7 separate regions of the Homo sapiens genome follow, and regions 1, 3, 4, 5, 6 and 7 are each linked to region 2. Evidence: promoter capture Hi-C in 16 types of primary human blood cells and fetal thymus (Javierre and others, 2016). All regions are on one chromosome and are shown on one strand. The core of a region is centred on a gene start or on the middle of the fragment in contact, and the rest is flanking DNA. Distances in the headings are between cores, read along the strand shown. Region 1 has its middle 340 kb from the start of FAR2. Region 2 holds the start of PTHLH (parathyroid hormone like hormone). Region 3 has its middle 300 kb from the start of FAR2. Region 4 overlaps LOC105369711 (a long non-coding RNA gene). Region 5 has its middle 180 kb from the start of FAR2. Region 6 has its middle 220 kb from the start of FAR2. Region 7 has its middle 320 kb from the start of FAR2.

What was found. Contacts are between HindIII fragments. The CHiCAGO score rates a contact against its expected background, and 5 or more counts as called.
Region 1: a contact is called between a fragment that was not itself captured here and the fragment with the promoter of PTHLH in region 2, in 1 of 17 cell types (M2 macrophages). The highest score is 5.1, in M2 macrophages.
Region 3: a fragment that was not itself captured here is called in contact with the fragment with the promoter of PTHLH in region 2 in 3 of 17 cell types (M0 macrophages, M2 macrophages and M1 macrophages); the score reaches 9.3 in M0 macrophages.
Region 4: a fragment that was not itself captured here is called in contact with the fragment with the promoter of PTHLH in region 2 in 1 of 17 cell types (M2 macrophages); the score reaches 5.3 in M2 macrophages.
Region 5: a contact is called between a fragment that was not itself captured here and the fragment with the promoter of PTHLH in region 2, in 2 of 17 cell types (M0 macrophages and endothelial precursors). The highest score is 8.5, in M0 macrophages.
Region 6: a contact is called between a fragment that was not itself captured here and the fragment with the promoter of PTHLH in region 2, in 1 of 17 cell types (M2 macrophages). The highest score is 5.3, in M2 macrophages.
Region 7: a contact is called between a fragment that was not itself captured here and the fragment with the promoter of PTHLH in region 2, in 2 of 17 cell types (M2 macrophages and M0 macrophages). The highest score is 7.7, in M2 macrophages.

What each region holds. Positions count from the first base shown.
Region 1 is chr12:28,805,050-28,808,058 of GRCh38, reverse strand. No RefSeq gene overlaps it. Among named protein-coding and RNA genes, the nearest start is that of FAR2, 340 kb to the left of the region's middle. The HindIII fragment of the contact is 1,838 bases long and covers 770-2,607 here.
Region 2 is chr12:27,971,349-27,974,260 of GRCh38, reverse strand. It overlaps PTHLH (parathyroid hormone like hormone), which reads left to right and starts at 1,528. Exons shown (of 6, transcript NM_198965.2): 1 at 1,528-1,738; 2 at 2,242-2,334. The HindIII fragment of the contact is 3,977 bases long and covers 1-1,608 here.
Region 3 is chr12:28,852,596-28,855,493 of GRCh38, reverse strand. No RefSeq gene overlaps it. Among named protein-coding and RNA genes, the nearest start is that of FAR2, 300 kb to the left of the region's middle. The HindIII fragment of the contact is 1,878 bases long and covers 445-2,322 here.
Region 4 is chr12:28,748,344-28,751,570 of GRCh38, reverse strand. All of the region lies in intron 2 of LOC105369711 (a long non-coding RNA gene), which reads left to right. Among named protein-coding and RNA genes, the nearest start is that of FAR2, 400 kb to the left of the region's middle. The HindIII fragment of the contact is 271 bases long and covers 1,464-1,734 here.
Region 5 is chr12:28,964,866-28,967,729 of GRCh38, reverse strand. No RefSeq gene overlaps it. Among named protein-coding and RNA genes, the nearest start is that of FAR2, 180 kb to the left of the region's middle. The HindIII fragment of the contact is 251 bases long and covers 1,267-1,517 here.
Region 6 is chr12:28,925,086-28,928,112 of GRCh38, reverse strand. No RefSeq gene overlaps it. Among named protein-coding and RNA genes, the nearest start is that of FAR2, 220 kb to the left of the region's middle. The HindIII fragment of the contact is 8,630 bases long and covers 1-3,027 here.
Region 7 is chr12:28,832,057-28,835,101 of GRCh38, reverse strand. No RefSeq gene overlaps it. Among named protein-coding and RNA genes, the nearest start is that of FAR2, 320 kb to the left of the region's middle. The HindIII fragment of the contact is 2,196 bases long and covers 594-2,789 here.

The sequences.
Region 1 (3,009 bases), core at 439-2,938, 830 kb before region 2:
TGCTATGTTCAGCTATCCGATGGATCCACTCATGAACATGTCATGTACCAGTCCCCTATGCAAACCAGACTGATAAAGAATTAAGTAATATCTCATCTCATTGTGTATACTATGTATAGTTTGACTACTCTCTATATAAGAATTAGATAGATGAGCGTTAGAGATTAACTTGTGTATTCATCTATTTACTTACTGCTACAATCAAAAGCATTTAAGGATGCTTATAAAATGGTATTCTGTAAAATAATTACCCACCTCAGAGAGTTTTTGCAAATGCATGAGTATCAAGCACTTAACACAGAACACGTTACACAGTGAGCACACAATAAATGTGGGCTGTAAATCTGTAAAATAAATAGAAAAAGAGATCAGGGCAAAACTGTAATAAAAGCAGAATGTTAATACAAGGAATTAAATGCTTTATGATAACATATAAACGTTGCAAACTGGCAGTTATGCCAATCCCTATTGACTCCAGTGGGAATGTCACCAGGTTTAATTAAGATGCCTAAGAAGAGTTCCAGGGCCAGAAAAAAAAAAAAGACACGAGTTTTATTGGGGGTTTATATACAGGGGAGAGAGTCCAGGGACAGTGGGCTGGGCAGGAGAACCATATGGCCTAGTGGTGGCAGGCTGGGCAGAAAAGCAACTGCTTGCAAACTGCTTACATTCGGGTGCATCTGCCATAGGGGGTCATTCTTAGGGTATGTTTAAGCTATTGCTAACAGATGAATTTACCATACACAGGCTCCCAATTTTTCTCTAAGCTTCCTAGTGCATTTTTTAAAAAGGGTGCATTATATAATTCACATGTTCTGTAAGATAAAAGAACACCAAGTTTTTGTTTCTTTTTTATAGTAAGCCTGAGAGGTTCAGTAATTTACATAAGATAATACATACAGTCACTAATTGAAGGAGACTGTGTTTAATTAAACCCAGCTTTTCTGTATCGCCTTATTTCACATATTAGCATAAGTCTTGTGAGGTATGATTTCTGTAGCTTTGGGGAATGTGCTCTGGATCCTGGATATTAACTTGAGAAGCCCTGAATGTCAATTATAGAGAATAATGCAAGGGAGGCTGAGGCAGGAGAATGGCAGCATGAACCCCGGAGGCAGAGCTTGCAGTGAGCCAAGATTGCACCATTGCACTCCAGCCCGGGCCGCAGCCGCGACTCCATCTCAAAAAAAAAAAAAAAAAAAAAAAAAAAAAAAGAGAAAAGAAAAGAAAAAGAAAATAAGGCAAAACGATGTAAACATGGATTCCTAAATAAAGCATAATTATGAAGGCTTAATCCATCTTCCATATTTAGGCCAACTATTTACACCATTTTCTACAACAATCCAGTGTCATCTATTATTTTCTATTGTGCCCATAAACTATTGAAGTGATCTGGAATTTCCAATAATATTACCATACTAAAATAAAACAGCAAATAAAGTTAAAAAAAATTATAATTCTAAATTAGTTTTAGAGACCAAACACTTCTTCCTCACTCCCACTGATACTTCCCTGTCATCAATATCATGTAAAAATATTCCCTATAACTCAGTATAACTGGTCAGTTTGAAAGAAGAAACTGGTGCAAACTGATCATCTTCAATCTTTAGTTTGCCTCAGAAATACCTGGAGGGTTTGTGAAAATAGATTTGCTGGGCCCTACCCCCAGTTTCTGATTCAGTAGGTCTTGGATGGGTCGTGATAACTTGAATTTCTTATAAGTTCTCGGATGATGATGATGATGATAATGCTAGAACCACATTTTGTAAATCACTGCCTAGACTTGGATGTATCTTATCCCTTTGGGAACTAGCTGCCTGTAGGAAACTTGGGTTCATTTTCTCCAAACTGGGAGGAGGGAGCTGTGATTTTCCAGTATTGCCAGTGTCTAGGTGACTAATTTTGCCTAATTTTGGAGTTCAGTAATGAGTCCACTTGCTTATAAATAAAAGCCCAACATTCCAATATCAGCTTTATGTATGATAAATGTGATACATGATTCCTATCTGATTTATTTTTCATTTCACAACCAGTTTAGAACTCCAGGGGAAAATACAGAAGTATCATTTATTATGCCATCTCTATCCTGACATTATGTATGCCTCTAAAGCTGAAATCCAGAAATAGTATTACTATTCACCAAACACAGATATATAAGCAAAATACAATTTTTGAATATGCATTTTAGTGATGTTCCTCCACCGCCCAAAAAGAAGCGATGAGTCTCAAATACCATGTCAAAGTAAATGCCTGTGCAATTATAAAAATGCAAACTTAATGAGATGGCAAAAAAGATGAAGGAACATTTATTTCTAGGTATTAATGAATGCAAATTTTTGCCGGTGATTCACAATTGTTTGAGGTATATTTGAAATTAATGATAAAGTTTTGATAATTAATAATTATCAAATAATGATAAAGTTTTGATAAAGATTTGAAAATTAATGATAAAATAAGTGCTAAGGTCAATTTAAATCTACTTTAAATGAGGCTGTGAATGAGAAATATTATTTTAAAAAGAAATGTGACTGACCTCAGATAATACTTGCATCCAAATTAGTAAGGTGATAAATTTGCTCCCTGTTCCTGACATCTATCTAGGAAGCTTTGCATATAATAACCAATGAATATAGTTCACTTTCAGCTCTTTTGATCTCAAAGATTCGATAAAGAAATTTCTCTTAAAATACAGTTTTATTACAAGAGATGTTGCGGCAAAGGAAACCAAAATTGCATATCTTGCCATTAAGCCCAGATACCACATGAAAACTACACATTGCGCATTTCCAGTTTCACTGGGAATTTTATTGTGCTTAAACAAAAAATTTAAAAGTTGTGTAAAACGTCATAGATACTCCAACAATTTGGCAACAAGGGTTGAAAAAAACTTCATGTTTTACTATTTTATCAGACCTGTAACAAATATAAAAGAGCTGTTTTTCTAACCTTGGTAAGATATCTCCATAAAAGTCCTGGAATTAGCGTGATGCCCTGAAAGGTGAAGTACTT
Region 2 (2,912 bases), core at 279-2,778:
CTGCCTACTTTCAGGAGCCAAAAACTTGGCCAGCCAAGGGCAGGCATCTGGCTGGCTGGCACCAGTCCAGGAGATCAGGACTGGGACACTGCACATTCATATTCTCTCTCTCTCTCTCTCTCTCTCTCTCTCACACACACACACACACACACACACACACACACACAGAGACATATCTGAAGAAGACTCTTCAGATATGTTTCAATTGTCAGGAGTTTGCGAGGTGCTCAAGTGCTTGACCTTTAAGAACCGGTTCTCAGAGACCCCCATTTCCTAAAGACCTTCTCATCTCACATTGGTTTGGGTTCCTCCCAGGAAACCGCCTCCTCTCTGGGCCTCCTGCTTCAGTTTGGGGGAAGCAGAACATTGCCCAGGAAGTAGGGAAGGGTGAGGAAGGGTGTGAGGCCCACTTTTCCCATGGGAGGATCCCATCAGCTTGATGCATATCTATACACTCCTCCCTGAGGCAGTTCCTCCAGAGGTTAGCAGCCCGCCCTGTTCCTGGAGAAGTCTTATCCTCACCTAACTACAAAAAGATTTAATAAAGAAACACACCCTTTCCTATTGTTACTTGGGGTTTGAAGGCATTACATCTTTTTTTCTTTTTTGCTACCTTGAGGTCAGCTGGCAACAGCCTCCTCTCAAGTCTCAGTCCAGGCGAGCGATGAGAGCCACATTCTAATGGAATCCAATGAGAGCATTACTTGAGCTGATTATGCAACGTCTCTTTGTAAACATTGAAAAAAGTTTGGAGAAGAGATGGGATGAGTTTAGTTGTTTGGTTCCAGGGGATTTTAGAGACATAGCTTGCAGCTACAGATTGGTAAATGTGAAATCTGGATGCTTATTGGTAATAAGAGAATTCCCAAGCCCAGGTGCACTGTTTAAAGTGCTATAGATTCATATTTGGTTTATAATGTATATCTGTTTGCTGTTTGGGTTAAGGAGGAAAGAAGAAAGAAGGATGAAGAGGCTAAGCATAAATGCTATTTACTTTTTTCTAAGCTATGACAGGAGATATACATTAACTGGGTATTCAACTGAATTTAAGAGTAATGCATTTAAAATTTTTTCAACCTCTTTTAAAATTTGATATACTGTAATAAACTGCCACTGGGGATGGGAAGATGGAAGCCTGGTGCTCATGGGCTAGGCATTTGTGTAGGTGTAGATCTTATAATGCTAAACATGGAAATACTTCAGATTAGAGGCAGGCCTTCCCATTTGCTAAGGTGCATTTACATGACAGCAAGGCCTAAGCAAACATTTAGCTTCTATTGGCACTTGTTCTATTTCTAAACCTTAGAAAAAAGGTGTGTGTGTGGGCTGGGGGGACGGGGGGGGGAGGGAGGTGGTAGGGGGTGCTCTTGCTGTGTCTCATTTGCAGTCATGCATCCTCTGCATTATTATGATGGAGATTACTCAGTTATGTTAGGAACTAGATTATGATGTCAGAAAATATCCTTTCCAAAACAGGCAAAAAGTCAGGGTCCTGGGTATATATTGAGGAGAATTTCTACGGAAAGTAATAAACAGGGCAGCTTGGAAGAGGTACCTGCTTTCTAATAATTGCCTTTAGTGGGAACAGAAGTCTCCTTTCAAGAAGCTTTTAATTCATTTTAAGATTTAATTTTATGTTTTCTGAAGAACAACAAAAAATATTTCTGGAAAAGACTGCTGAGAAGATTTCCCTCTTTCAGCCAGAAGAGCAGAGAGAAGATTGTAAATCAAGGAAAAGGTGAAGTAATAAATTAGGAGGGAACTTTGGTATTCCGAGTATATAAAGACTATTTATTTTTCCTGTGTCTATATTTTCTCTTTTTGTGGAGGAGAGGAAATTCTAAAAATATTTGATAGATGTTTTGCCATTAACACCAGAAAAGTGTGTGGGGAAAAAGAAAGGAGGGAAGGAGTGGGGGGTTAATTTTGTTTAATTAGTAGAAAAAGCAACATAAATCAAAGCAGTCTATTGATGCCAGTCCTTAATTTATAATGTTCTGAAAGTAAAGTGAATTTATTTACAACATAAGTGATTTGATAATTTCAATCTGATTTTTGTTTTAACCTTCTATTGGGAGAAGGGTTGACTTTTTAAAGCCTGGATAGTTTGAAACTTGGCTAGGTACCTTGGACTTTTTATTGTGGAAGCAAATATTATCATTTCAATGTTAAACAACTTGCAAGTATTAAATGGCTCATTTGTGATTGACTTTTTTTTTTTTTTTTTTTTTTTTTTTACAGATTTCCCCCTTCAGATCTAACGATTACATTAGGGCTCCTGCATCTTTTTGGAAGGATTCTTTTTATAAATCAGAAAGTGTTCGAGGTTCAAAGGTTGACATTTCTGAGTGCTGATACTTTGTCCTTTCATACTATCCAAACAAGTCTAACATTTAGAAATCCTTACACATTCAAGGGAAGTTGTGGAAATTCCCAGAGAGAGAGTGTGTGTGTGTGCGTGTGTGTGTTTTGGTTTTGTTTTGCTTTTTTTCTTTGTTAGTGAGAAGAAGCCGAGTCTTTTAAGGTACGGGGTTTACAGTAATGAACTGAGGAAGGCAGGAGCTTCTAAGAAAATATGCCCCCCCACCCAACCTAAGCAGTAAACTTTAACTGCTAGCTAGCTGCAGTGAACCAGTGGGAGCCCCGATGAGCGAGGGTCTCGGTGACAGCGTGCTATTTCTCCCACCCTGGGTAAAATATGTGGAGCATCACCCGGAAAGTCGGGCTTGATAAAGGCCACATTCCTTGAATCATCTCAAGAATCTAAATCACACTAGCCTTCTAGAAACTAATGAACCCTACCAGCAGGATTGCCTAGAAGACAAATATCCCTTGAATGGTTCCCAGTCCACTCGCGCTCTTTTCAAAAAGTTAGAGGAGCCCTGGGGAGGGTATCCACTCCCGCTGCAATC
Region 3 (2,898 bases), core at 134-2,633, 880 kb before region 2:
GGAGTGAGGAAGAACTATCCAAGAAAGGAGGCTCAGAACTCTTATGAAAATGAGAGAGATATGAGTGGGGAGTGTTTGGGAGGTGGTAAACATAGCAAATGCAAACCAGGAAGAGAAGGCAGCAGGGCTTGGATGAGCTTCATGGGCTCCAGCTTAAGTAGATGAAGTTTTGAGTGTCAGTGGGACATGCATGTGGAGATGCCTACAGCCCTTGGGCCATAGGATATGTTTAATGTGCTCAAGTCAAAATTCAAAAGTCTCTAGGTTTATCACATAAAAACACATTTGAGGAAAACACAATAATATTCCATATATTTATTCACCAAAATGTTGCCTGACTCCTTTGAAGTCATTTTAACTAGCGTGTGTCTGCAATGAGCTCTGTTCTACTTCTGTAAGGATCCCACAGAGTGACTCCAATGACCTCATTCAAACTAATAAGCTTCACTTTCTTCCTCCCTTAAATCCACCTCCCTTTGCCTCTTAAACATCATGGAAAGGGAATGTGACATTTTAGAAGGTGTCATGCCGACAGCCTCACAAACTGAGGCTCATTTCACCAAAAAGGAGAGCTTGTGCTATAGCCAGTACATTTTCTCGCTCCAGTGTCCTCCACAAAGTAATTAACACAGCCAGGTTGGGACCATAGAATAATTCAGACATTCATGCCAGTAACATACAACTTGCATTGTAAGTATTATTTCTTCTTTAAGTCTCTGTCCATGAGGTTTTTGAGGGCAAGGTCATTATCTTACTCATCTTTGAGGAATATAACCGTATTGACTATGTAAAGGACAGTTAGAACATAATAGGTTCTCATTAATTGTTTAGTTGATAGATAAAAATTATTTGGTTCCTGAAAACAAACGTATAGCAATGGGAAACTTCAGAGTAGAAATGTTTGATTAGGCGCAGGTAACTTTTTTTCCCCTGAAAAAGAAAGTATATAATAGGGAACTCCAGTCTCTGCCTCCGGTACTTGAACTCCTGGAGTTCTTTTTGTACAAAGCTGTCACCATTATTTAGCTACTCAGTTAACACCCTCACAAAGCAAGTAAACACTCATGGTTCTCCTTTACCCACATTTTTAATCAGATAGATCCTCAGGCATTAGATGCAGGTTTTTGTCCTGACAGCCTTTGGAACAAGCCAAATCAAAAGCATGTATGTAATATTGTAGCAAAAGTTTCTGTATCATATTAATTCTTTTTCTGTCTTTTATGTTGTAACTATTTCTCTATTGCTACATTTTTGTGACAAACAGTATTTTCTTCAACTTCATTGCTCTTTATGTGGTTTTTGTTTTAGCGTTCTGTTTAGAAAGATTGTGAATGCTGTAAGTGTATATACCTGTTCACTTAGGACTCTTCTATTGTTTTTGTTATTTCACATCTTCCATTTAATTTCTTTGGACCTCAATTTGTTGAGTGGTATATGGGAAAATAAAATTTTATATGTTTTTCCCAAACAATTATCCAGTTGTTCTAAAACTACATATTAAAGAATCCAATCTTTATCATGTACTAAATTTCTTTCTATATTTGATTCTACTTCTGAAAATTGTATTGCATTATAATGAGTTTCTATAAAAGCAGGCAAATTCTCTTATAATTTTTTGGCATATCTAGAAAGTACAACAATGCCTAATACTCAGTAATTGAATCAATGGATAAATTTTCCACTTCATTTAATCAATCTCTCGGGCTTGTTAATCCCACTGTATAAATATCTCTTGAAGAATTCCTTTTCCTTTTATTAGTACATTGCCTGCCCTCATACAGGCCCTAATAATTATGGACTTTTAAAGTACTTTTTACATACAAATGGAATAAGGTTCAAAAATGTAAATCTGATCAAGTACCTTCCCCAGTCGAAATTTGTAAATGACTACTCATTTCATCTTCCATACCTGAGGACTACCAAAGCCCTCAGTTCAACCAAATGAAACTATTATTCTTTTTCAAATATTTCATATTCAAATATGCCTTGCTAGTTTTTTGTTTATTTGTTTCTTAATCCTTGCCTTTGTAAAACTCGAACAGCTTGGTAATAAATGTGTGGACAAAGTGGATTAGTATATAAAGAGGGGATTCATGGTTATAGAAAGATAAGTGAGTTTGGGCCAGGATGAACAAAAACATGAAGGTATGGAATAACTCTCATGCTCTCCCAGAACCACAGGCTGTTGAGAATGACTAGTGTGCAGGTGAAAGTGAAGACATAAACATCCAGGGTGTGAAAGGCCTTGTGTGTCATGCTAAGAACTTTGTTTTTCCTACAGGAGAGTAGAGCCAATGAAGTGTTTTAAATGGGGAAGAAGCTTGGTTACAATTTTTCTGCAGGATAGATTGACAGAAAGTGCATTCAAAGCCAGGAACCTGCTTAACAATAGATTCTCCAATAGTATAGGTGACATATGATAAGGCCTTGAGCCAGGATAATAGTATTGAGAATCAGAAGAAGGGATGCATATGATGTTATAAAAGAAATTCTGCAAGATTTTGTGACTGATTAGGCATAAAGGTGAATAAAAGGAAGAACTAGTGATTGATCCCCACCCTCAAATCTTCTATCAGCCGCCATTTCTGGCTTGACTAATTGGATAGATGGTAATGTTCTTTACTAAAATAGGAAATACAGGAGGAAGATCTGTTTAGGAGATTTTAGGGTTGGTGGAGGAGAAAGGAGAGACAATATACTCTATCCTCGACATATGAAGAGTTTCCAGAAGGAAGGAGTTGTCAAGAGTGTGGAATGCATCAGGAAAGACCAGTCAGATGTAGACTGCAAAGTGCCTATTTGGATTGAACAGTTAGAAGATTTTGGTGTTCTTCCTGGAAGTTGGGAAGGAAGAAAGTAGAGATTGTCAGTGCAAAGTTCTCCGGAAACAAGTGTAGC
Region 4 (3,227 bases), core at 350-2,849, 780 kb before region 2:
AGCCTGGGAGAAGCATTATTTCTTCATGTTGACTCATTCTTTTCTTTGGGGGTCAACTCCCTCATCCCATTCATCCTTCCCTCTCTGAAAGCGATCCAGGAAAACTGCATGCTCCTCTTGGAATTCCACAAATAGAACACAGCAAAACATTAATGAAGAGAGAAAACAGTTTTCATTTATTTTGCTTTCAGAAATACACTTGGAATGGTCTGTGCCAGAGTTGTACTATATCAAAGAAACCATAATCCAAAAAACAAACCCTTTTTAAATGATAACCAACTGTATTTTGTATTTTCATTGAATTACTTTATTTCTGTAAAAAACAGAATTTCCATTTTTTCAATCAAAGAGCTGAGTTTCTAAAGCTTCCTGTGGTCTATTTACATTTCCTACAGTAACCTTCTTAAGCAAGAGACCAAGGAAAATATGAAACTTACTTTTTTGTTTCATTTTCCCTTTTTAAAGGAGCTTCTGTATTTTCCTGACCTTGTTAAGGCCTAAGCAACAACAACAATTTTCAAATAAAAATTAGCAACAGATTAGCAGATGCCTCTTTATTACAAGAATTATTGTCAGTTTTCAGTTACATCATCACCTCTGGCTATATGCTATGCATTGGATACTTATGTTACTTTGCCTTCTTTTTTCCTCAAGAGCAACTAATCAAGAAAAGTAAGATAGTAAGATGAATCTAAATGTCTATGAACTGAAGAGTGGGATCCTTTAAGAGTAGTCTGACAGATATCATTTAGAAGGAACGTATTGTTAACTATTGAAACAAGATGGTGAAGGTAGGAAATCAAGACCTTAGAAGGGTTGCATTCATTCACTTATTTAAACAATATTTTTTGAAGATTTTTATTTAATCATCAGTGTAGTAGGTGCTGGTAGAGGGAGAAAAAAAAAGAGTTGTCAATCATACTGCAGGACCATGAGTTTCTCTCAAGGGTTGGGCTACTGCAAAATAAATAACTTTAAAGATAAGAAACCTGGAACCTCATCAAATCATAGCTTTCAGAATGTTCTTGACTTTCCCGCATCCTCTGGGGAGCAATGGAGCAGAATAACTCTTTAAAATACAGAGATTTTAAATAGGTCTGTGGATGTCATTCAGCCTAAAATTCCCACTGGCTTCCTCCATCTGTTATGGTATCTTCAGTTGCTTCATTCAACTAGACACAAAATGATCCTTTCAACCTCATTGTTGAAGGTTTCAGCTGACATTGTTTGAAGAGAATACTTCCTCCTTCTTCTCTGGAAGACACCCTAATTGGACTCTCTGGGCTCCATCCATCACTCCTGCCCAGGCTAGATGGAATCACTTACCTGGATGGTAAATAGGAATAGGAAAAGTAAGCAGAACCCTGGTCTTTTTTCTCTTACTTGAATGCAAACTGCCTGTAGGGAGCATAAGTTTTCGGTTGATGAGAAAGCCTAAATTTGATGCTTAATAGGGAGAAGCTTACTTGTCAGCAGTTATAAGCCATGGCCTTCGATCTAGCTTTCCATAGTAAAAAAAGCAAAATATTGGTTTCTACAGGCCAACTTTTTTATTATGTCTCAAATGGTTCAGACCTTGGATAGGAAAAAGTGCTGTTATTATTGGTCCTCCTTGCCTCATGATCCCAATATCTAGTGCCATTAATTTTGAGAGAAAGAGACAGGGAATGAAATTTGCAGATGGAAACAAAACAAAACTATGCTTAGAGGTATTTGATGAAGCCCCAGGAAGCTTCCAATCATGGTAGATTGTAATGAATGTTAAAATCATACAAATAAAATATTTGGTTACATGAAGCATGTTTTGAGCTTTGGGCTTTAATAGAGGTCATGTACATCTTTGACCTTGCCTGCTTCCTTTAATTCTTTTGAAGTTGCACTTTAGGACAGCTTCTGTGCCCCAGCTGTCCAGGCATGAGTGCAGGGGTCAGCAAACCACGACCCATGGCCTATTATGGCCTGCTGCGTGTTTTAGTGAAAAATTAAAGTTTTACTGAAACACAGCTGTTAAAACATAAACTGAGGCACAATAAAAATTTAAAGAGTTTATTTGAGCAAATGGTGATTTATGAATTGGGCAGCTTCAAACCAGAAATGGTCTAGGGGCTCCATTGAAGAAGACTGAGTGACAGGTTTTCATAGAATGAATGTTGAAATCACACAAAGGAAATATTTCATTACAGTTATAAAGTTGCCTTACCTGGTCTGTCCCACTAGAAAGTCCCTAGTTGTAGAATTATAAGTTTGTTGGCTGCTTCTGATTGATTGAGCTTAAGTTCTGTTTTTCCTTAATATAGGCACTACAAGAAAAACAGCTCAAATTACATTTCACTTCTGTTTGCAAATCAAGCAAAGCTAAGGTCACTTATGAGGCTTCACTGGGTTTGTCCCCACAGCGATTCTTCAGGCCTAGACTCCATTTTAATTCACTTTAACACAGCTAAGATTCACTATGTATGTTGTCTAAGACTATTTTCACGCTACAGTGGCAGAGTGGAGTGGTTGCAATAGAGACCGTATGGTCCACAAGCGTAAAATACTTAACATCTGGCACTTTACAGAAAAGTTTACCAATCCACACATTAATGAGTTGAATGGCCTAATGCCCTTTGCTGTATTTCAGCCAGATCTATAAGCCATTAGAAGATTTTCACCTTGGAATTTGTAGTATTGACTTTCATCCTAAGCTGAGGCAGGAATGATCCAGAAATTGGGTGACTTGTGCCACTTTGATCCACATGTGCTAATTACACTGTGAATCTTAGAGATTTGTATTGCAGTTTTTTACCCACAGAAAACTAGAGGACTTTATATGAAACAAATAACAAGAAATGATGGCCACTACTATACACACCAGAGATCTAACCTGCACTAAAAAGGTAGACGGAAAGCTGATTGAAATCCTCATTAAAACAAAGGCCCAAAAACCATTAAAGAAAGTCAGTACATGTATGTGATACCTTCACTTGAAGTTTATGTTGACACAGAAGTAGTGCAAATACCTTGGGAATCAGAAATACTGCAGAAAGTTTTAGATGGCAGACTTTTCCACTTTAAGAAATAGTTTGGATGGGGCATGATGGCTCATGCCTGTAATCCCAGCACTTTGGGAGGCTGAGGCAGGAGGATCGCTTGAGCTCAGGAGTTCAAGACCAGCGTTGACAACATGACGAAACTCTGTCTCTGCAAAAACATTAAAAAAAATTAGCTAGGCTTGGAGGCATGCA
Region 5 (2,864 bases), core at 143-2,642, 990 kb before region 2:
GTGTGTGTGTGTGTGTGTGTTTGCATGGGGGCGGGATGCAAGGCAAGAGACCTATTGGAATAACGGCCTTGGAGCTGAGGGCTGAGGTTCACCTCTCGCACTCGTACACTGTGTATGTTGTGCACAAGGTGTTGGAAGAACTGCCAGAAATAATTCCCTCTTGAGACGGAGCAGGGCAGTTCCTACTGGCTTGGCCGGAGGAGGCTGTCCCTTCATCTGTCCAGGAGGAGCTGCTGTTGACAGATTGCTGGGGGCCTTTCAGCTCAGACCTCCATCTCGGGAGTGTGGAGAAAAATGAGGGAGGGGCACACTGCCTCCGTGGGTGGGACACACCTGCTGCTGCTGCTTGGAGCCTTTGTCGCCACCCAGGACCATCATGCTAAGATGGGGAGGGGGTGACATTGGTGTAATCTCAGGGACTGACTGAGTCAGGCCACAATGGCAGCCTTTCTTGCAGCCACATATATATGCCAAGCGAGGACTCAATGGGCCATACCATAACCCAGGAATCTGGCCAATTCCTGATGCTTTTATCCCAATAGCAATATGGCTGAACAACCCAACTGTAGACAATGGAGTTGTGGAGGAGGATAATAGGGCTTATCTTGATACACCTGTTCATAGCTTCCATTCCTAACTTTTGAGAAAGTGGACGAAGGAAGAAGTCATGGAAAGAGTAAGTCAAAGCGAAGACTTTTCCACTCCCTAGGAAAAACTATTTTGACTCCCTGGACATGGTTCTAATATGGGATTCTGGGGCAAAAGGTGTGGATTTGGTGTTCTACATTCAACTCTCCCTGTTGTTTTGCAGCACTTGTAGGGCTGAGGGGCCCACCTGTATTCCCTACTCCTCCACCTCCCAGCCCACTGGGTCTCTGCTCAGTCTTGCTGGGCCAAACTGAACCTATAAAGCAAGCAAACTTCCTTGTTGTCATTATTAGTGAAGATATATTTTACTGAACTTGAAAGTAGTGAGAGTATCATTTGAGGGGGAGAGACAATGGAAATTTATTTTAAAAACAACAACAGCATAATAATAACGATAACACCCCTCAAGAGTGGGACTCTCACTTCTCATTTCCATGCTACTGTAGCTCTGGTTTGGCCAGCCTCCTTGGCTTGGCAAGCGTGATCCACTTCATCTCCCACTTTTCCTGTTGGCTGAGGTCCCATTCTCCTCTTGGCTCCTGTAGCTCAATTCCTGGCTGGCTACACTAATCCTACATAGTATTTTACGCAAATTTATATGAACCCCATTACAAAGCTTAGCAAGGAGGCCCTGTTTCTTTTCCTTGATAGAATTAATCATTTATAACTTGGCTGTAAGAAGCCAGTCCAACTTGTGGGTCCTTAGATTTTGCTCATAAGAAACATTCCTGGCTCCACCCAGGAAGAAAAAGATTTCTTATTCCTCTGCCCTGCCCCAGCCCCCTGAGGTGCTGTCTACTTTGGAAATTCCCACCAGTCTTATTTAGAACCACACTCACAAGTTGCCTGGGAATTTCTCCCAGAAAGCTTCATTTTCCCCCCTGCCCCTGGGGCTTCATTTCCCACAGACCCCTGGGAGGTTTAGACTGTTGTCTGTATCAACAACATGATAAACTTATTGTGGCTGCCAAGGCTTCTCCAAAGAGTTGTGGGAATCATTTGTGAATTACTTCTTTGATTTTTCTTAAATGAAATTCTGTTTCCACTCATGTTAAATGACTATTCCCAGAGTACAGTTTCTTTAGTGGCATTGTGACATTAAGGAGGAAGACATACCTCCCATGGTGACAAATCAAAGAAGGCACCAAGCTATGAATTTTCAATTAGGATAATTGAAGGTCAGCCAAACAGCACCTCTATCTGCCCCTGATGCCTCATTAATAAGGCAGTCATTTCCCGCTGCAACTTTTATTTTAACCACTAAAGAGAAAATCTAAGGACTAGGGTATATGTTTCTGCATATATGCCTCCATACATAGATTATTCTAAGAAAACAGAAGAGAATTTCTTTGCACTTGTTTCCTTTAAGCCAAAACTCATGTTAGATTGTAGCATCTAGCACGTCAAACTTTTCAACAAGTCACAAGGCATGGAAAAGAGCATCTGTGGGTCAGGTCACTTTTCTCAGGCAGTGTGGGTGGTGGTGTTTTGGTTTTTTTTTTCCTCTTGTCTGGTGTTAGTGAGGGCTTAGTTGACTATGCTTGTAGCTCCAGCTTTGGGAATATAATTTTTGCCTTCCATCTAAACACTCCACTTTCCATTTTTGTAGGAAGGAAGGAAGCCTTCTCAAGTGACAGCAAGCATAATTGGGATAAACACCGATAAGCATATCTTCCCAGATTAATAATCAGAATTCCAATTTCCCATTTAAAAAAAAATCTAAATTTCAGGGATGTGGTCAGATTTGCCCAAGTCATCAGCAATTTAGCAGCAGAGATATGAATATGGTCTAATTCTTCAGATTGCTAATCTGTGTTTAACTTCATTTACTATGATTCTATATCCAAAATGCTTCTAACAGCACTCTGGGTGCTAGAGTTACATATTAGAATTTTTGCTTAGGAGAATTGCATATCATATTGCACTCAGTATATTCATAATATTCACTAAATGGGAAGGGGGTACGTGATGGTTAATACTGAGTGTTAACTTGATTGGATTGAAGGATACAATGTATTGATACTGGGTGTGTCTGTGAGGGTGTTACCGAAGGAGATTAACATTTGAGTCAGTGGGTTGGGAAAGGCAGGCCTACCCTTAATCTGGGTGGGCACAATCTAATCAGCTGCCAGCATGGCTAGAATAAAAGCAAGCAGAAAAACGTGTAAAGAGAGACTGGCCTAGCCTCCCAGCCTACATCTTTCTCCTGTGCTGGA
Region 6 (3,027 bases), core at 254-2,753, 950 kb before region 2:
CACTGAGGCATGTCTTAGCTACCTCAGTGAAGACAGCTCTCACTGAGGAGCCCTTCCGTTAATAAAAAGGATGGATTCTGAAGAGATTGGTGCTGTTAAAAATTAGAAAGGAGACACTACTGCAGTCATTATTCTCTCTGAATGCCCGTGTGACAATGGGGTGTTCTCTTCCTCTCTCACCTGCAGGCCTTGTAACCTGAACTCCTTCGTCTCATTTCCAAAGGCTGCCTCTTCTCCTGAGTGGCTTCACTTGGGATTTAAAACCTGCATGAAGTCAAGGCTCAGACCTGGCTTCCTTGGCTCCCACTCAGATCATATGGCCAAGTGGGAGTGATCAAGACTGTGGGCTCCTCACCTGAGGCCTGTTTCTGTTGCATCCCAGCCATCTCCTTGTTGCAGCTGCCCATTACCCAATACCAAGAAGAGAGGACTTCTCCCAGTGACACTCACCCAGTGTCACCTTTGTCCACAAATATCTAGTCTTGTGGAACATGTGGATTAAAATACCAATGAATTCTTGTCTGTTTGGGTTCATGTTTTTCTATTAGGACAAGGAATATATAACCAGAGACTAAAACTAAGTGCTGTAAAATTAGTGGTAACATTTTGTTTAATCCCGAGAGACACTTTGTGAGTAAAAACGTTTGTTAGGTGAAGAAACTGAGAATGAGCCAAATTTGTTAATAAGTTAGCTTGCTAAGAAGTAACACAGTTAATAAGGGTTATAGGCTGATTAAAATTCCTATCTGGCTGCCTCCTCCATATGTGCTCAGAGTCTTTGGACAAGTGTGGATGCTGAGTTAAGGGAGTGAGGATCTCTATTCCCAGTGAAGCATCCTTGTGAGAGCATACACGCATCCTCAGCCAAGACAGAATCAGTGGCTCTAGGGTTAAATGGCCTTAAGTGAGGGAAACAATGGATGTGGTGTTACTTAGGTTTGTCCCTCATTGCATTGATAGAAGCTGTTAAGCACGTTCAGTTACAGATTGATGTACAGTAATTCCGACAAAAATGCTCAACAGCATCGACTGTGGACAGTAGTCCAAGATGGTGTTCAACTGTCTCTACATAACTGTCAGCAAGAGACTCAGAAAAATAATGTGGGCCCTGGTGTCCCTCTACACACTGCTGATTAAGCGATACCTGAGACTGGGAAGAAAAAAGAGGTTTAATTGAACTTACAGTTCCACATGGCTGGGGAGGCCTCAGAATCACGGCGGTTGGCAAAAGGCACTACTTACATGACGGTGGCAAGAGAAAATGAGGGAGAAGCAAAAGCAGAAACCCTTGATAAACCCATCAGATCTCATGAGACTTATTCGCTATCATGAGAATAGCATGGGAAAGAACTGCCCCCATGATTCAATTACCTCCCCCTGGGTCCCTCCCACAACACAGGGTAATTCTGGGAGATACAATTCAAGTCGAGATTTGGGTGGGGACACAGCCAAACCGTATCACCTGGGAATGGTGATGTCAGGAAAATGTGCTGCCACTGCCAGTGGGAGGCCATGCCAACAAAGGCCACCATCATTGTGACCCAGTGTTGAGACTTGCACTGGAATCTATTTCCAACAATAGTTATTTCCACCAAGAACCATTTCTTCTCTAGAGGTTACATGGAGGCCACCCACTGGCACAACTCTGGAAGAAAGTCCAAGGCCACTCTTGGGAACCCAGATAACATGTAGCCTGGGGAGACCTGGCTCCCTTCACTATTCCCAGGCTGGGTCACATTTGCCAGGATAGAGTTTGTTGATCTTTGAGGAAACTCTTCACTGAGGATGAATAACAAATTCCCCCATGAAAACCTGGCAGGATTAGAGGCAATGAAACTTGATGTTTGGGGAGCCTTCTGCAGAGAATTACAGTTATGACTGGGTTCCTTGGCTGGGAAGCGCTTGGAGAGGGAGGGTTACATGTTATCATTTACCATTTGCTTTGGGACATCTGGTCAGCAGCTGTTGACAGAAGACTCTCTGAAACTTTGAAGGTCATCACCATCACTGAGCAATGATTTTTTTTTTTTCTCTAAAGCTGATCTTATTCTTCTGGCATTTCCACTTTTCTCACTCCTATTTTTGAGGTTTAACCTAATTTCCTCCTGAAATTTCTGGATGTTTCTCTGAGGCTCTCGCCTTGCTCTTTATTTCCAAACACTTTTTTGGGAGTTCTATTTACATGACTTTGCTTAAACGTTTCCAGACTCCTCTCAATCAACTGTGTCTGCCCATCAGCACAGGCCATTCTTTCATCATTTCATTCCTGTTGGGTCTTGTCTTGCAGTCCCCTAAATGTTCCCTTCCTGCCCCTACCACCAAAACATGTCACTCTTCACTCTCACACAAAAACACCCTTAGCAATGTTTACATATAATAAGCTACCTTTTTCCAGTGCTTGAGAAATTCTCAAGGAAAAACTTTGTCACTTGTGGAGGCTTCTTTAAACTCTATCATTCTGCTGATTTTCCAGGTAATTACTGCTAACTGCAATGCCTGTGGGCTAAGAGCAGCCTTGGATTACCTTGTCTTTACCTTCTCCAAGCAAGCCAAGAACACTCCCATGGCACTAGTCAGAGTTTCTGAGGGTGGGAGGTCACTGCTAATTCTTCCCTCACTGAAAATGTCCCACAAAGTGTTGTTTGTCCCACAGGCTTGGTGTGAAGACTAAATGACATAATGATATAATAAATACAGTGCTTTACTCAACCCAACACAACTTCTGGCCATCATCCTTCCATTCGCATTATATGTCTTTGATGCAAAGGATTTTGGAATTCCTTTCAAGTCATCATTTTCATTCTCACATACTTCTCTTGTGATCAAGTGGCCCCACACAGCTGATTCTTAGGAAATTTGTGAACTTGGAGTCTTTGCAAAGGCTTTACCTTATGTGTATAGATTATTTTTTTCTAATGAATTGTGTTTCTTTACTGGTATGAATAGTATTAAAGTTGCTGAAGTTTTCTTTTCCTAGTTCCTTTTTCCTTTTCTTACACAGAGAATTTGCTTGAAATACATAATAAA
Region 7 (3,045 bases), core at 442-2,941, 860 kb before region 2:
ATGCATACATTGGAAAAGAGGAATAGTCTCAGACCAATAACCTAAGTTCCCACCATAAGAACTCAGAAAAAGAGCAAAATAAACCCAAAGCAAGCAGAAGGAAGGAAATCATAAGGATCAGAACTGAAATCAATTAGGTTGTAAACAGAAAAACAATAAAAATAAATGAAACAAAGTCTGGTTCCTCAAAATGATTTAAAAAATAAATCTTTAGCAAGACTCACAAGGGAAAAAAAAAAGAAAACACAAATTGTCAATATCACTGAAGACACAGACAATATCAATATAGACCTTGTCTACATCAAAAGAATAATAAAGTAAATATGATGAATAAAAAAAGTTCATATTTATATGTGGGTTTTGATCTTGTCATCATGTTGTTAGCTGATTATTATGCAGACTTGATTTGTAGTTACTTTATAGTGTCAATGGTCTATGTACTAAAGTGTGTTTTTGTGAGGCCAGTAACAGTCATTCCTTTCATATTTAGCACTCCCTTAAGGACTTCTTCTAAGGCATGTCTGGTGGTAATAAATTCCCTTACATATGCTTGTCTGAAAAAAAAATCTTATTTCTTCTTCACTTATGAAGCTTAGCTTGCTTGGATATGAAATTCTTGGTTGGAATTTCTTTTCATTAAGAATTCTTCATATAGGCCCCTAATCTCTTCTGGCTTGCAGGGTTTCTGCTGAAAGGTCTGCTGTTACCTGTTGACCTTCCCTTTGTAGGTGAGCTGCCCCTTCTCTCTAGCTGTCTTTAACATGTTTTACTTCATTTTGACCTTGGAGAACCTGACGACTATGTGTCCTGGGGATGATTGTCTTGTATAGTATCTCACAAGGTTCTTTGCATTTCCTGAATTTGAATATTAGCCTCTCAAGCAAGGTTCAATAAATTTTCACGGACCATGTCCTCAAATATTTTTTCCAAGTTGTTTTCTTTCTTTCTCTCTCTCTCTTTCAGGAATGCAAATGAGTTATAGAATTTGTCTCTTTTCGTAATCCTATATTTCCCAAAGGTTTTGTTCATTCATTTTTATTCTTTTTCTTTATGTTTGTCTGTCTGAGTTATTTTGGAGAACCTGTCTGTGAGCTTTGAGATTCTTTCTTCAGTTTGGTTTATTCTGCTGTTAATACTTGTGATTGTATTGTAAGTTCTTGAAGTGAGATTTTCAGCTCTGTTAAATTAGTTTGGTTCTTTCTTATAACGGCCATTTCATCTTTCCTCTCCTGTATCATTTTATTGTTTTCCTTAGATTGGGTTTCAACTTTCTCCTGAATCTCAATGATCTTCATTCCTATCTATATTCCGAATTCTGTGCCTGTCATTTCAGTCACTTCAGCAACTTCAGCCTGATTAAGAACCACTGCTGGTGAACTAGTGTGGCCATTTGGAGGTAGGAAGACAATCCAGCTTTTTAAGTTGCCACAATTCTTGTGCTGGCTCTTTCTCATTTGTGTGAGCTGATGTTTGTTCAATCTTAGCAGTTGCTGTCCTTTGGGTGGGGTTTTTTGCTTTTATCTTCTTTGATGCCCTTGGGTATTTGATTGTGGTATAAGGTGGGTTCAGTCAGCTGGCTTTGCTTCTAGAAGATTTTAGGGGACCATGGCTCAGCTTGGCAGTCCTGGAATGTGTGCTTTGGCTCTGAAGGTCTGGGACCAAGCCCCTTGCTTTGTTCTCTGGCCCCTTGAGGTTAGGAATCTGTAGTGTTGGAGGGGCCGAGGTGTTCTCAGTCTGTAGGTCACAACACTCTGATGGGGGGGTGTCAGGCAAAGTACTTCATCAGGGCAGTGGCAGTGGGATACATGCTTGCTTGCACATGCCAGCAGCCACAGCAGTGTGATGAAGTGCATGCACATTGGCTTGAGATGGCCACTGGTGGGAGTGGGGTGGTGACATTTCTCTGTAAGCTCCCGCCAGTGGTGGTGACTGTGCAGCAGGGGTGAGGCACTGGGAAGGGCAGATTTGCTGGCGTCCATGCACATGTTTGCACCAGAGGTGGCAGAGGTGTAACAGGGGCTCATTTTCATTCAGTTCAAAACATTTTCTAATTTTCCTGTGCTGTTTTTTGTTTTTTTTTTTTCCTTTTTTAACCATGGGTACTTACTAGAGAAGTGCTTAAAATTCAAAATGCTGAGGTTATTCTGGGTATTGTTCTGTTGTTTATGTCTAATCTAATTCCACAGCGGTGCAAAAACAAACTATTTCTGATTTCAATCCTTTTAACTCCATGCGCATTTTTTTTCTTTTTTTTTTTTTCTTTTTTTTTTTTGAGACGGAGTCTTACTCTGTCACCCAGGCTGGAGTGCAGTGTCGCAATCTCAGCTCACTGGAACCTCTACCTCCCAGGTTTAAGCGATCCTCCTGCCTCAGCCTCTCGAGTAGCTAGGATTATAGCTAGGATTACAAGCATGTACCACCATGTCCGGCTGATTTTTCTGTTGTATTTTTAGTAGAGAAGGGGTTTCACCATGTTGGCCAGGCTGATCTCAAACTCCTGCCCACCTCGGCCTCTGGGATTACAGGTGTGAGCCACCATGCCCAGCCTCATATGCACTTTAAAAGGATGTATATTTGGCAGTTGTTTCATGCAATGTTTTAGAAATATCAATTGAGTAAATATGGTTAATAATGTTATTCAATGCTTCTACATTTTTCTGATTTTCTGCCTGCTTGTTCTACTGGTTCCTAAGAGGAGAATGTTTAAGTCTCCAACTTAACTATGGATAATTATAAATGTGTCTGTTTCCCTTTTCAGTTCCGTCAATTTTTGCTTCTATATGAAAGCTTTATAATTGAGTGTATGCATAGTTAACCCTATTGTGTCTTCTGAATTGAAATATTTATCATGGCAAAATGTAATATTCTGATAACATTCCTGCTAATATTCCTTGTTCTGAACAGTAACTTTTCTGATGTTAATGAGATCATTCCAGCTTTCTTATAGTGTTTCATATTATGCATTTTTCCACTTCCCTTTTAAGTTGCTTTCATCTTTATATCTAAAGTAAATTTCTTATTTCCAACATAAGGGTCTTGCTTTTT